Linked DNA regions of Homo sapiens: region 2 is linked to region 1. Evidence: promoter capture Hi-C in 16 types of primary human blood cells and fetal thymus (Javierre and others, 2016). All regions are on one chromosome and are shown on one strand. The core of a region is centred on a gene start or on the middle of the fragment in contact, and the rest is flanking DNA. Distances in the headings are between cores, read along the strand shown. Region 1 holds the start of NDE1 (nudE neurodevelopment protein 1). Region 2 overlaps ABCC1 (ATP binding cassette subfamily C member 1 (ABCC1 blood group)).

Evidence for each region. Contacts are between HindIII fragments. The CHiCAGO score rates a contact against its expected background, and 5 or more counts as called.
Region 2: a fragment that was not itself captured here is called in contact with the fragment with the promoter of NDE1 in region 1 in 1 of 17 cell types (erythroblasts); the score reaches 5.2 in erythroblasts.

What each region holds. Positions count from the first base shown.
Region 1 is chr16:15,645,440-15,651,772 of GRCh38, reverse strand. NDE1 (nudE neurodevelopment protein 1) reads right to left here and starts at 1,528. Exons shown (of 9, transcript NM_017668.3): 1 at 1,479-1,528. RefSeq lists enhancers at 826-1,325, 1,326-1,827. The HindIII fragment of the contact is 10,572 bases long and covers 1-6,333 here.
Region 2 is chr16:16,107,808-16,113,785 of GRCh38, reverse strand. ABCC1 (ATP binding cassette subfamily C member 1 (ABCC1 blood group)) reads right to left here. Exons shown (of 31, transcript NM_004996.4): 22 at 2,204-2,411. Among named protein-coding and RNA genes, the nearest start is that of ABCC6, 110 kb to the left of the region's middle. The HindIII fragment of the contact is 249 bases long and covers 4,275-4,523 here.

The DNA of each region.
Region 1 (6,333 bases), core at 279-2,778:
ACACACTAAGAGGAAAGGCTCAAAATGGGTTGTAGGCCGGCACGGTGGCTCACGCCTGTAATCCCAGCACTTTGGGAGGCCGAGGGGGCAGATCACGAGGTCAGGAAATCGAGACCATCCTGGCTAACACGGTGAAACCCCATCTCTACTAAAAATACAAAAAATTAGCCAGGCGTGGTGGCACGCACCTGTAGTCCCAGCTACTCCGGAGGCTGAGGCAGGAGAATCGCTTGAACCCGGGAAGCGGAGGTTGCAGTGAGCCAAAATCGCACCACTGCACTCCAACCTGGGCGAGAGTGAGACTCTGTCTCAAAAACAAAAACAAAAAAAAAAAAAAAAAAACGGGTTGTATACCAACGAGGTGATGGAGGCTGGGGTGGTCGGGTAACAAGAGGCTTTAGGAGTAGCTGGGATCTAATTAATCTTCAAAACACCCGACCCATGTCCTAAAATGCCATCCTATGCTAGAATACACTATAACAAAACTAAAAATGATGAACCTGCCTAGGTCGTGCTGCAAAGGCCTTTTCTTTAGAAAGTTAAAAGGGGCCTGAGGCTCAAAGTAGAAATTAAGAGGCACAACCTGGTAGTAACCACGGACAAAGCAATCAAGGAAGCTCAGGCCCTCAGGAGGCAGAAAGCCTGAGATGGCTCGGAGAAGATAAAGTCGCCTCCCCAAAAGCGGTGTCAAGGTGACAGCGGGGTTTCCCAGGACCTCAGAGACTCAGGTCCTCAGTGAGCCCAGCCATCACTCAAGCTGCGGAATAAGCATTTTCGTCCTTTACCCAATCCCTCCCCAAAGTGCTGTCAGAAGAAACCTGAACCGTCCTGCGGCAGAGACGGGAGCAAAGCGGAGAGCAGACTGCCCCAAACGTGTTCCCGGAGGGAGGGAGCAGGGTGGGTTTTTGGAAAGAGGCCTGCAGGGGCGGGACAGTGGGTGTGAGGGCAGGGGCAACGCTGCAATCGAGGGGTCTGGGGTCGCAGAGAAGCGGGTGGCAGGATGGAGGAATAGGAGAGAGAGAGAAAAGAAACGAGGGTCATCTAGGAGAGGAGTATGGGGAGGAAGGAAGAGGAGAAAGAGGATGGAGCCTGGCAGCGGGGTTTGGGGACCGGCAAGGCTTAACCACCCAGGAAGTCCCGGAAGGAGAAGAGGGCAACGGGGTGGGAGAGAGACCAACGCAGAAAGAGAAACAAAGTTGCCAAGGGCGAGGGGCCAGCGCGAGGAACGCACCGGTGGCAAGGCACTCAGTGCCTAACTTTTTAGGACGGGAGGCTCCAGGGAGGCGGGATTTTGGAGCCCAGGGACCGGGGGAGTCCAGGCGGCCGGGAAGCGACGCGCAAGCGAGGGGCGTAGGGGTCCCTGCCAGGCGGTGGCCCGGGGTCCCGGGATCCTGGGGCGGGGCAGAGGAGCTTTTCAGCCGCGGTGGAGGTCCCCGGACAGCCACCCCGACCCCAGCCCCGCGCAGCGCCTCACTTACCCGAGCAGGGGCGGCGAGGCCAACGCGGCGGCGGCGGCAGAGGCGGCTGCGAAGGGCGGTGCGGCCCCGGCCCTCCGGACCCCGCCCCCGCCCCGGAGCCTGCGGTCGGCGCCTCCCATTGGCTGCTGCTCTACGGTACCGCGTCCGCCTCGGCCAATCAGCGCAGAGCAGCGTCGTTTGGAAACTTTTTTCCCAGGCCGGGCGCGGCGCGGCCAAGCGGCGAAGGCTCCTGGCCGGAGGGGGTTTGAGAGGCGCCGGCTGCCGGGCGCTGGGCTGCGGCGGGCTGGCGGGCATTGGAGATGCTGCAGAACGCTGCCTGGACACCCGGGAAACGGGTTTGGGCTTGCGGGCCGCGCATTTCAGGAAAATACGCCGGCCTCTCCTTCACTTCGATTGCATTTTCCCATTCTTGCACTTTCTCCAAATCAGAAGGAAAGACAAAGATTCAGGCCCACTGAAGCTAGCAGTGCCCCGTGCCCTTCCTACTCCTTTACACCAAAAGTAGAATCTTCAGCATCATTATCTTCTCCAGAAGCAGGAGAACGTAGTGCACCAGAATTTGGTCATAAACTTGGCTTTGAGTCCTAGTCCTGCCCCTTACTAACTGTGTGGTCTTGGGAAAGTTGTTTAGCCTCTATGACTCCGTTTCCCCATCTATAAAACGCCATTATGGGTCTGGCGCGGTGGTCACGCCTGTAATCCCAGCACTTTGGGAGGCCAAGGCGGGTGGATCACGAGGTCAGGAGTTCAAGACCAGCCTGGCACATGGTGAAACCCCGTCTCTACTAAAGATACAAAAAATTAGCCGGATGTGGTGGCACGCACCTGTAATCCCAGCTACTCAGGAGGCTGAGGCAGGAGAATCACGGGAAACCGGGAGGTGGCGGTTGCAGTGAGCCGAGATCACACCACTGCACTCTAGCCTAGGCGACAGGGCAAGACTCCGTCTTAAAGAACAGACAAACAAACAAACGACATTATGCAGAGGACTAAATGACTTAACAGCATTTGTAAAAACGTTTAGAACAGAAATTTGAACTTAGTAAGTACAATATATGTATTTGTTAAATGATCTTGATTTTGTTTATTTATTTATTTTGAGATGAAATCTCCCTCTGTCTCCCAGGCTGGAATGCAGTGGCGTGATCTCCACTCACTGCAACCTCTGCCTTCTGAGTTCAAGCAATTCTCCTGCTTCAGCCTCCCGAGTAGCTGGGATCACAGGCCCGCATCACCACACCCGGCTAATTTTTATATTTTTAGTAGAGACGGGGTTTCACCATGTTGGCCAGGCTGCTCTCGAATCCCTGTCCTCAGGTGATCCACCCACCTCGGCCTCCCAAAGTCCTGGGATTACAGGCGTGAGCCACCACACACTGCCTGAAGATCGTGATTTTTAAATGGCTGTGTGTGCCAGGCACAATTCTCACAGCAACCCTAATTGTTCACTAACAAATTAAAATTAAAAAATAATTTTTTTCTTTTCGAGACAGAGTTTCCCTCTTGTTGCCCAGGCTGGCGTGCAATGGTGCGATCTCGGCTCACTGCAACCTCTGCCTCCCAGATTCAAGCGATTTTCTTGTCTTAGTCTCCCTAGTAGCTGGGATTACAGGCGCCCACCATTACGCCCAGCTAATTTTTTGTATTTTTAGTAGAGACACGGTTTCACTGTGTTGGCCAGGCTGGTCTCGAACTCCTGACCTCAAGCAATACACCTCAGTCTCCCAAAGTGCTGGGATTACAGGCGTGAGCCATGTAACTCAGAAGGCAGAGGTTGCGGTGAGTGGAGATCACGCCACTGCATTCCAGCCTGGGAGACAGAGGGAGACTTCATCTCAAAATAAATAAATAAATAAAATCAAGCCACCATGCTTGGCTGGAATTTCTTTTTTTCTTTATTTTCTTCTAAAACATCCTGTCATAACATGTTCATTAACAAATACCGAACATTCTGGTTAGTGGGTACAAAAATAGAGTTAGAATGAATAAGATCTAGTATTTGGGAGCACAGCAGGGTGACTACAGTCCACAACAATGTATTGTACATTTTAAAATAACTAAAGGAGTATAATTGGAGTGCTTGTAACACAAAGAAAGGATAAATGCTTGAGGTCATGGACACCCATTTACCCTGATGTGATTATGATGCATTGCATGCCTGTTATCAAAATATCTCATGTACCCCATAAATATAAACACCTACAGTGTACCCATAAAAACTAAAAATATATATATTATTATCCAGCTTTTTTTTTTTTTTGTGAGACAGAGTCTCACCCTGTGACATAGGCTGGAGTGCAGTGGCATAATCAAAGCTCACTGCATCCTGGACCTCCCAGGCTCAAGTGATCCTCCCACCTCATCCTCCGGAGTAGCTAGGACCACAGGTGTGCACCAACACGCCCAGCTAATTTTTACATTTTTTTGTAGAGACGTGGATCTCACTATGTTGCCCAGGCTGGTCTTGAACTCCTGGGCTCAAGTGATCCTCCTGCCTCAGCCTCCCTCCCAAAGTGCTGGGATTATAGGCATGAACCACAGCACCCGGCATTATGAGCATTCTTCTGTACAATGCACCCTTACAGCACAGTGAATACAGTCAGACAAAGTACCTGTCCTCAAAGGGCTTATATTGTTAAGAGAGAAACATACTAAATCTATAAGCAGAAAAAGTAACGTCATTTCAGATACTGATAAGTGCTATGACTAAGGCAAGCCCATTTGATACAACGGGCTGGGAGGGGTCACTTCAGATGCTATAGTCAGGGAAGGCCACTGTAGAGAGGAGACCATGCAACTGAACCACAGGTGATGAACCACAGGAAAGCATTAAATTGTATCCATGTTAAAGATAAGAAAATAAAGGTGCAGGAAGTTAATTGAGTTGTCCGAGGTCTTACAACTAGTAATTAACAAATCAGGCTTCAGAGCTGGCTCTGACTCCTAAACCCTCCTTCTTCAGCACTATGCTAGAGGCAAAGAGATCTTAGCTATTACAGGATCTCCCACCCCATCTTGCCTTCCTGCTATCCTACAACAGCCTTTCTCAAATTCTACTTTGAACTCCTTGCTAATTCCTAAAAACTGCTTAGAGGCACAAAGGGGAACCCCACCACCTATCAACAGGTTTAAGGAAAGTACCAAATGTCTTTCAGGAAACTTCCCAAACATTAATGAATCATTTACATGCTGCTTCACACTTTACTACGTCTGATGCCTTCCCCCTTGGAATTTTATTTTATTTCGAGACAGAGTTTCACTCTGTTGCCCAGGCTAGAGTGCAGTGCTGCAATCTCGGCTCACTGCAACCTCCACCTCCCGGGTTCAAGCGATTCTCCTGCCTCAGCCTTTCGACTAGCTGGGATTACAGGTGTTCACCACCATGCCCACCTAATTTTTCTATTTTAGTAGAGGCAGGGTTTCACCATGTTGGCCAGGCTGGTTTTGAACTCCTGACCTCAAGTGCTCCACCCGCCTCAGCCTCCAAAAGTGCTGGGATTACAGGCATGAGCCACCACACCAAGCCTCCCCTTAGGAATTTTATTACTTATTTACTTATTCATTAAGATGGAATCTCACTCTGTCGCCCAGGCTAGAGTGCAGTGGTGCGATCTCGGCTCATTGTAACCTCCACCTTCCAGTTCAAGCGATTCTCCTGCCTCAGCCTACCAAGTAGCTGGTATTAACCCCCCTTGGATTTTTTTTTTCTTTTTTTTGACGGAGTCTCGTTCTGTTGCCCAGGCTGGAGTGCAGTGGCACGATCTCGGCTCACCGCAACCTCTTCCTCCTGGGTTCAAGCGATTCTCCTGCCTCAGATTCCTGAGTAGCTGGGATTTCAGGTGTGCACCACCACGTCCAGCTAATTTTGTAGTTTTAGTAGACACAGGGTTTCACCATGTTGGTTTGGCCAGGCTGGTCTCGAACTCCTGACCTCAAGTGATCCACCTGCCTCGGCCTCCCAAAGTGCTGGGATTACAGGCGTGAGCCACTGCGCCTGGCCCCCCTCGGAATTTTATTTGGCCCTAACCACTCTGTGACGTTTCTGGACAGGAACTAATCACCTCAGCTTACAGAGAAACCGAAGCACAAACTGATGAGGTACTGGTGTTGCCTAAATGGCTTTGATCAAGGTATTTAAACTAGTTGGTTCTCAATTTCCCAAATTTTCCATAAAGAAAAAAGAGAGGGCATTGAAATAATAATCCTTAAAGTCCTATTTGGGAACAACATTTAGGGAAATAGGTTTGTCATTGGGTAAAACCTTAAAAACATTTAAAATGTTTTTCTTGTTCTTTTTAAATTCAATTTGTTTTCCTTGTAGCTTTGGACTATGGCTGAGCAGATAACTCAATTTAACTTCCTTAGGTCCTTCCATGATCATTTATTAATTCAAACCACTGAACCTAATACAGGTAGAAGATTGGTTTCTGGGGAGAAACTCCTTTAATAACAGCTTGGTTAGTTGAAAAGCTGAATTGCATGTAAAGTAGCTACTTAAATAGCACACAAAAAAGTCTTTCGGTTTTCATACATGTGAAGACTATAATTTGGACAAGGGAAAAACTGAAAGTTACTTGTACTCTCTAAAGTTTTCCCAGCAAAGAAACAGGAATACAATTAATAGAGGATACATACTTAAAATATATCTTAAGAGAAAATTTATGTATTTTGATTCATAATTGTCTCCTAAGGCCTGGTATACTTTGCTTAGGCTCCTAGTCTTTAGAAAGCAGCAATAAAATTACATTTCTTTTAAAAGTATTTGTAATTCAGACTTTTATTAGCCTTCCACTTAATACGACTGTTTTGTTTTTAAAAATTTTTTTAATAGAGACAAGTGTCACACCATGTTGCT
Region 2 (5,978 bases), core at 3,150-5,649, 460 kb before region 1:
TGGTGCCAAAAAGGCTAGGGATCGCTGTTTTAGAACAGTGCTGAGATAATTTTCTGAAATGATGGCTACTGAGCACTTGAAACGTGTCTAGTCTAATCGAATAAATCTTTAATTTTATTTTTCTTTTGAGATGGGGTCTCTCTCATCCTGTCACCCAGGATGGAGTACAGGGCTGTGATCACGGCTCACTGCAGCCTCGACCTCCTGGGCTCAAGCAATCCTCCCACCTCAGCCTCCTGAGTAGCAGGGATTACAGACATGCGCCACCACGCCCAGCGAATTTTTGTATTTTTTGTAGAAACAGGGTTTTGCCATGCTGCCCAGGCTGGTCTTGAACCCCTGGATTAAGCGATCCACCCGCCTTGGCCTCTCAAAGTGTTGGGGTTACAGGCGTGAGCTACTGCGCCCAACGTTTATTTAATTTTAACAGCTGAAATTAAAATAGCCACCTGTGTCTTGTGACTACCGCACCAGACAGCACAGCTCTGGAACAGACGTTGTTGCTGTGTGAGTTCAGGTAATACCACACCCTCTCTGTTCTCTACCTTCCCTCAATTATAATTTGTAGGCCACAGTCCTTTCCCCTAATGGCAAGGAGAGGGGAGGGGAGGGATTGAGAGACTCAAGGAGTCCATGTGTGCTCTGCTACCGCTGGGTTTTCCCAAAGCCACCTCCTGGAGATCCTGAGACACTGGTGCTTCTCTCAAACAATCCACAGGAGCGCACTGTGTGTTCCAGAGCAGCAACTTCCTAGGAACAGAGAGGCTTCCATCTCGGCCTCTTTAATCGGGAAGACACCCAATAGGCAGGGGCTCAAGTAACAGGCTCTGGAGCCAATGCTGCCAAATCCCATCTCTGCCACTTACCAGCTATGGGACCTCCTACTGGTCACTGAATCTCTCAGTTTCCTCATCTGTAAAATGGGACAATGACGCTGACCTCGGAGCACTGTGGAATGTGAAGTCCCCACCTGGCAATGTGCCTGGCATACAGAAGTACTCAAATGTGTCAAGACTATCCATTTACTGTGTATATATCATATGGACCATACATGTGTATTTGCAAACATGGCTCACATACTGCGTAGCACAGTGGATAACAGCGTGAGCTCCTGAGCCAGACTGCCTTGTTCAATGCCAATGCTGCCATGTATTAGCTGTGTGACTTTTGGCAACTGACTCAACCTCTCCGGGCCTCAGTTTCTGTATCTCCAAAATGAGGGAAATATTAACTCCTACCTCACAGGACTGCTGCAAGGATAAAATAAGTTAAAACACGTGGAAGTGTTTAGAACAAATCCAAGCACCAAGTAAATGCTCAGTAAATGCCAGCTGTTAATATCAACGCTGCTGCATTTGAGGACTCCCATAGGACCACACAGAACAGTATAGAGCAGGGTTTTTTTTTTTTTGTTTATTTTTTGAGACAGGGTCTTGCTCTGTCACCCAGGCTGGAGGGCAGTGGTGCAATCATAGGTCTAACTGTAGGCTCAAACTCCTGGGCTCAAGCAATCTTGTGACCTCAGCTGCCCAAGTAGCTGAGACCACAAGCGCATACCACCACGTGACCTGTAGTTTATTTTATTTATCTATTTTTTCTAGAAATAGGGTCTCACTATGTTGCCCAGGCTGGTCTCGAATATCTGGCCTCAAGCAATCCTTTGACTTCAGCCTCCCAAAGTGTGGGATTACAGGTGTGAGCCACCATGCCTGGCCAACAGCAGGGTTTCTCAATCTTTTGACAACCAAAAGCATCTCCAGATATTGTCAAACATCCCTGAGGGACAACACTGCCCATAATTGGGAATTACTAGTATAAGCCAATTTCCGCCCTCACTCAGCAGGCAAAAGTCCGCAAATGAGACCTCATGGAAGCTCTGTCACTGTGACAAAGCAAACATGCTCAAGGGGGTCCTCCCAACCCTCAGTGCTTCCAGAGGCCTCTGTTCTCAACTGTCCTCATCTGTAAAATGGGCACACTGGAGCACTCCTCCCGTCTACCACCAAGGCCCATATGAACAAAGCACTCAAACACCCACTCTACAAATATCTGAGTGTCTACTAGCTGACAGCTACCATTTTTCTGGGTTTGGCTTGGTTTGGGGTCCCACAAAACGCTGAGGACTCTAAGGATCCATTTCTATAATTAGACAAAGCCACAACAGGGGCCCAAATCAGGCGGGGTGGGAGACAGCGGCACCAACCTTGTGAAATGCCCAGGGCTCCATAGACGCTCAGCCGGACTTTCGTGTGCTCCTGAGTCCCGTTGACGATGGGGTCATCAGTCCAGAGGCTGAGCCAATAGTTGGAAGCCAGCGCGGACACATGGTTACACATGAAAAGGAAGATGCTGAGGAAGGAGATGAAGAGTCCGATGGCCTTCATGTAGTCCCAGTACACGGAAAGCTTGACCTGGAGATCACAGGAGATAAGGCAGCTTAGCACATGCACGCACCCAGCCCCAGCCCCAGCCCCACAAGGTCGGGGGCTTCACCAGCACTGTGCCACCCAGCTGCCTGCCTTTGCTCCTACGTAGAACACCCCTCCCCTTTAGCTATTCAACAAAGTCAGCAGTAAACAAAGTCGAGGGCCAGGCGCCGTGGCTCACACCTGTAATCCCAACATTTTGGGAGGCTGAGGCGGGCAGATCAACTGAGGTAGAGACTTCGAGACCAGCCTGGCCAATATGGCAAAATCCTGCCTCTATTAAAAATATAAAGTTAGCCGGGTGTGTGGTCGGCATCTGTAATCCCAGCTAATTGGAAGGCCGAGGCAGAATTCCTCGAACCCAGGAGGCAGAGGTAGAAGCAGTGAGCCAAGATTGCCCCACTGCACTCCAGCCTGGGCGACAGAGTGAGACTCCGTCTCAAAAAAAAGAGACAAACTCAGGGTCTCTGCCCTCATGCATGGAGCTTCCAGTCGCGTGGTGAGATAGGCTCCCATAAAATCATCCCAGATAAATGCGTCATCACAGAGAAGGGCTGTAAACGGTGCACAATTCCACGTGAGTATAAAATCAGACAACCTGACCTAATGCAGTCTAGAGAGGTATTGGGGGAGGTTTTCTTCGAGGAAGTGACATTAAAGAGTTAAACCAAGGCTGGGTGCAGTGGCTCATGCCTGTGATCCCAGCACGTCGGTAGGCCGAGGCGGGTGGATTACCTGAGGTCAGGAGTTTGAGACCAGCCTGACTAACATGGCGAAACCCCTTGCCTACTAAAATACAAAAATTAGCTGGGCATGGTGGTAGGCACATGTCATCTCAGCTACTCGGGAGGCTGAGGCAAGAGAATGGCTTGAACCCAGTAGGCGGAGGTTACAGTGAGCCGAGAATGCGCCACTGCACTCCAGCGTGGGTGACAGAGTGAGACTGTCTCTAAAAAATAAAAAAAAATAAAGAGTGCTGGGCATCGTGGCTCACACACCTGTAATCCCAGCACTTTGAGGGGCTGCGGCAAGTGGATCACCTGAGGTCAGGAATCCGAGACCAGCCTGGCCAACATGATGAAATCTCACCTCTACAAAAAATACAAAAATTAGTCAGGCGTGGGGGCACATGCCTGTAGGCTGAGGCACAAGGGTCGCTTGAAGCCAGGAGGTGGAGGTTGCACCAAGCCAAACTTACTGCACACCAGCCTGGGTGACAGAGGGAGACATTGCCTCCAGGGGGAAAAAAAAAAAAAGGAGTTAAACCAGCTGAAAATGGAAAAAAGGTGGCAGAACCAGCATGTGCAAAGGCCCTGAGGTAGGAGGGAACACAGTGCATCTGGGGAACTGAGAGAAGGCACTGGTGGCTGGAGCCAGGAGATCATGGGGCAGCAAGGAACAAGAGGCTGGAAAAACCGGTCGCAGTCAGACCACACATGGCATGGGAGACTCGGGTCAGGATTCCAACTTTTAGCCAAGACTGACAGAAAGCAGAAGCCACCAATGAGTTTTAAGCAACGTGTGACATGTTGCCTGGCAACCAAGGCCAAATGTCACCTCAACACCACAACTGGGCCAGCCTCCTCCAACTCTTTTCACTCTGAGCACAGAATACCATCTCACCCATCTTCCCAGTGCCCAGTTCGCTCCAGGAGGTGAAGGTTGGAGTTTCTTTCCCTCCTATATTCCCTGTGGAGCCCAGCATGGGGCTAAACAAATGTGTCTAGCCGCCTGACATGAGAGACAGGGCAATCTGCTTTAGGCCAGCCCCCACCTAAACCACCTGACTTGGTTTCAAGAAATTCCAGGGATCTTTACCCGTGTCTGTGCTCATTGTCATTTCAAGCTTTTCATGCTGAATTTTGGGTCATGAAAATCATCTGGACTGGGTGCGGTGGCTCACACCTATAATGCCAGCACTTTGGGAGGCCAAGGCAGGACAATGACTTGAGCCCAGGAGTTTGAGACCAGCCTGGGAAACACAGTAAGACCCTGTCTCTACAAAAAATTTTAAAATTAGCTAGGTGTGGTGGTCCACACCTATAGTCCCAGCTACTCAGGAAGCTGAGCTAGGAGGAGCTCTTGAACCCAGAAGCTTAAGGCTGCAGTGAGCGTTGGTCACACCACTGCACTCCAGCCTGAGCGACACAGTGAGGCTCTGCCCCTCACCAGAAAAAAAAACAAAAATCATCTGACCCTACGGTCTAGCTGAAAGGTAACAGGTGAAAGATAACAGGTCTGATGTGTAACTGGCTGCTTCCTTTTGAGTTTTCAAGTCCCCATTCTGGAAAATGAAAAATGTGGGTGAGGAGACAGGTCATAATTAAGAATGTGTTTATTTCACCACTTGGCTTTGTCATGCGGCCAAGTTGCCTGCTGTCCCTGAAATTAGCCTGCAGCGTTCAGGAACCTCTTTCTCATGAGTAGTGGAATGTGGTGGGCTCGGGGGTCAGAAATGACAAGTGTGTGGCCAGGTGTGGTGGCTCACATCTGTAATCCCAGTACTTTGGGAGGCGGGCCAGTCACTTGAGCCCAGGAGCTCAAGACCAGTCTGGGCGACAGGGCGAAACCTCATCTCCACAAAAAAATTAAAAAAATTAGTCAAGCGTGGGGGTGCACACATGTAGTCACAGCTACTTGGAAGGCTGAGGTGGGAGAATCACTTGAATCCGGGAGGTGGAGGCTGCAGTTAGCCATGATTGTGCCACTGCACTCCATCCTGGGTGACAGAGTCAGACCTTGTCTCAGAAAAAAAAAAAAGAAAACAAATTAAAAAAAAAAAAAAGGCCGGGCGCAGTGGCTCATGCCTATAATCCCAGCACCAGCTCTTTGGGAGGCTGAGGCAGGCAGATCACAAGGTCAGGAGTTTGAGACCAGCCTGGCCAACATAGTGAAACGCCATCTCTACCGAAAATACAAAAATTAGCTAGGCATGGTGGCGCAGGCCTGTAGTCCCAGCTACTCGGGAGGCTGAGGCAGGTAAATTGCTTGAACCCGGGAGGCGGAGGTTGCGGTGAGCGCCACGGCACTACAGCCTGGGCAACACAGCAGGACTTCGTCTCAAAAAAAAAAAAAAAAAAAAAAAAGACACAAAGAAACGATAAGCGTGTTGTGCCTGGCTCCACTCTGGGTCCAACTTTGACAAGTAACAAGCCCCCTGGCTTTGATGTTCCTTGAATATAAAATTGGAGTTAAATGAGGATTAAATGGGCCTGGCATCTCTGGCCCTTCCTTCCCATGTCCTGCGATTTGGGGTAACTTCTCTGGCTTCCTGGAGGGTCACTAAGGGTAAGGCGAGAGAGGACACCAGAGTCACCTCTGCCCCTTGTTACGGTCCTGACTCTGATGACAAGTTAAGGAAGAAGCCAGGAACAGACAGTCCTCGGAAGCTCTGGACACATCCGGGCAGATCTAAGAGAAAGTGCCCCAGCCCCACTCCCCGGCTACCACCTTTCATGTTTTTTTTTTTGTTTTTCTTTATCTGCATGCTTATTTTTTACCTACTTTAAAAATTCCATTCCCTTTAAAAACAAAAACAAAAAAAACCACATT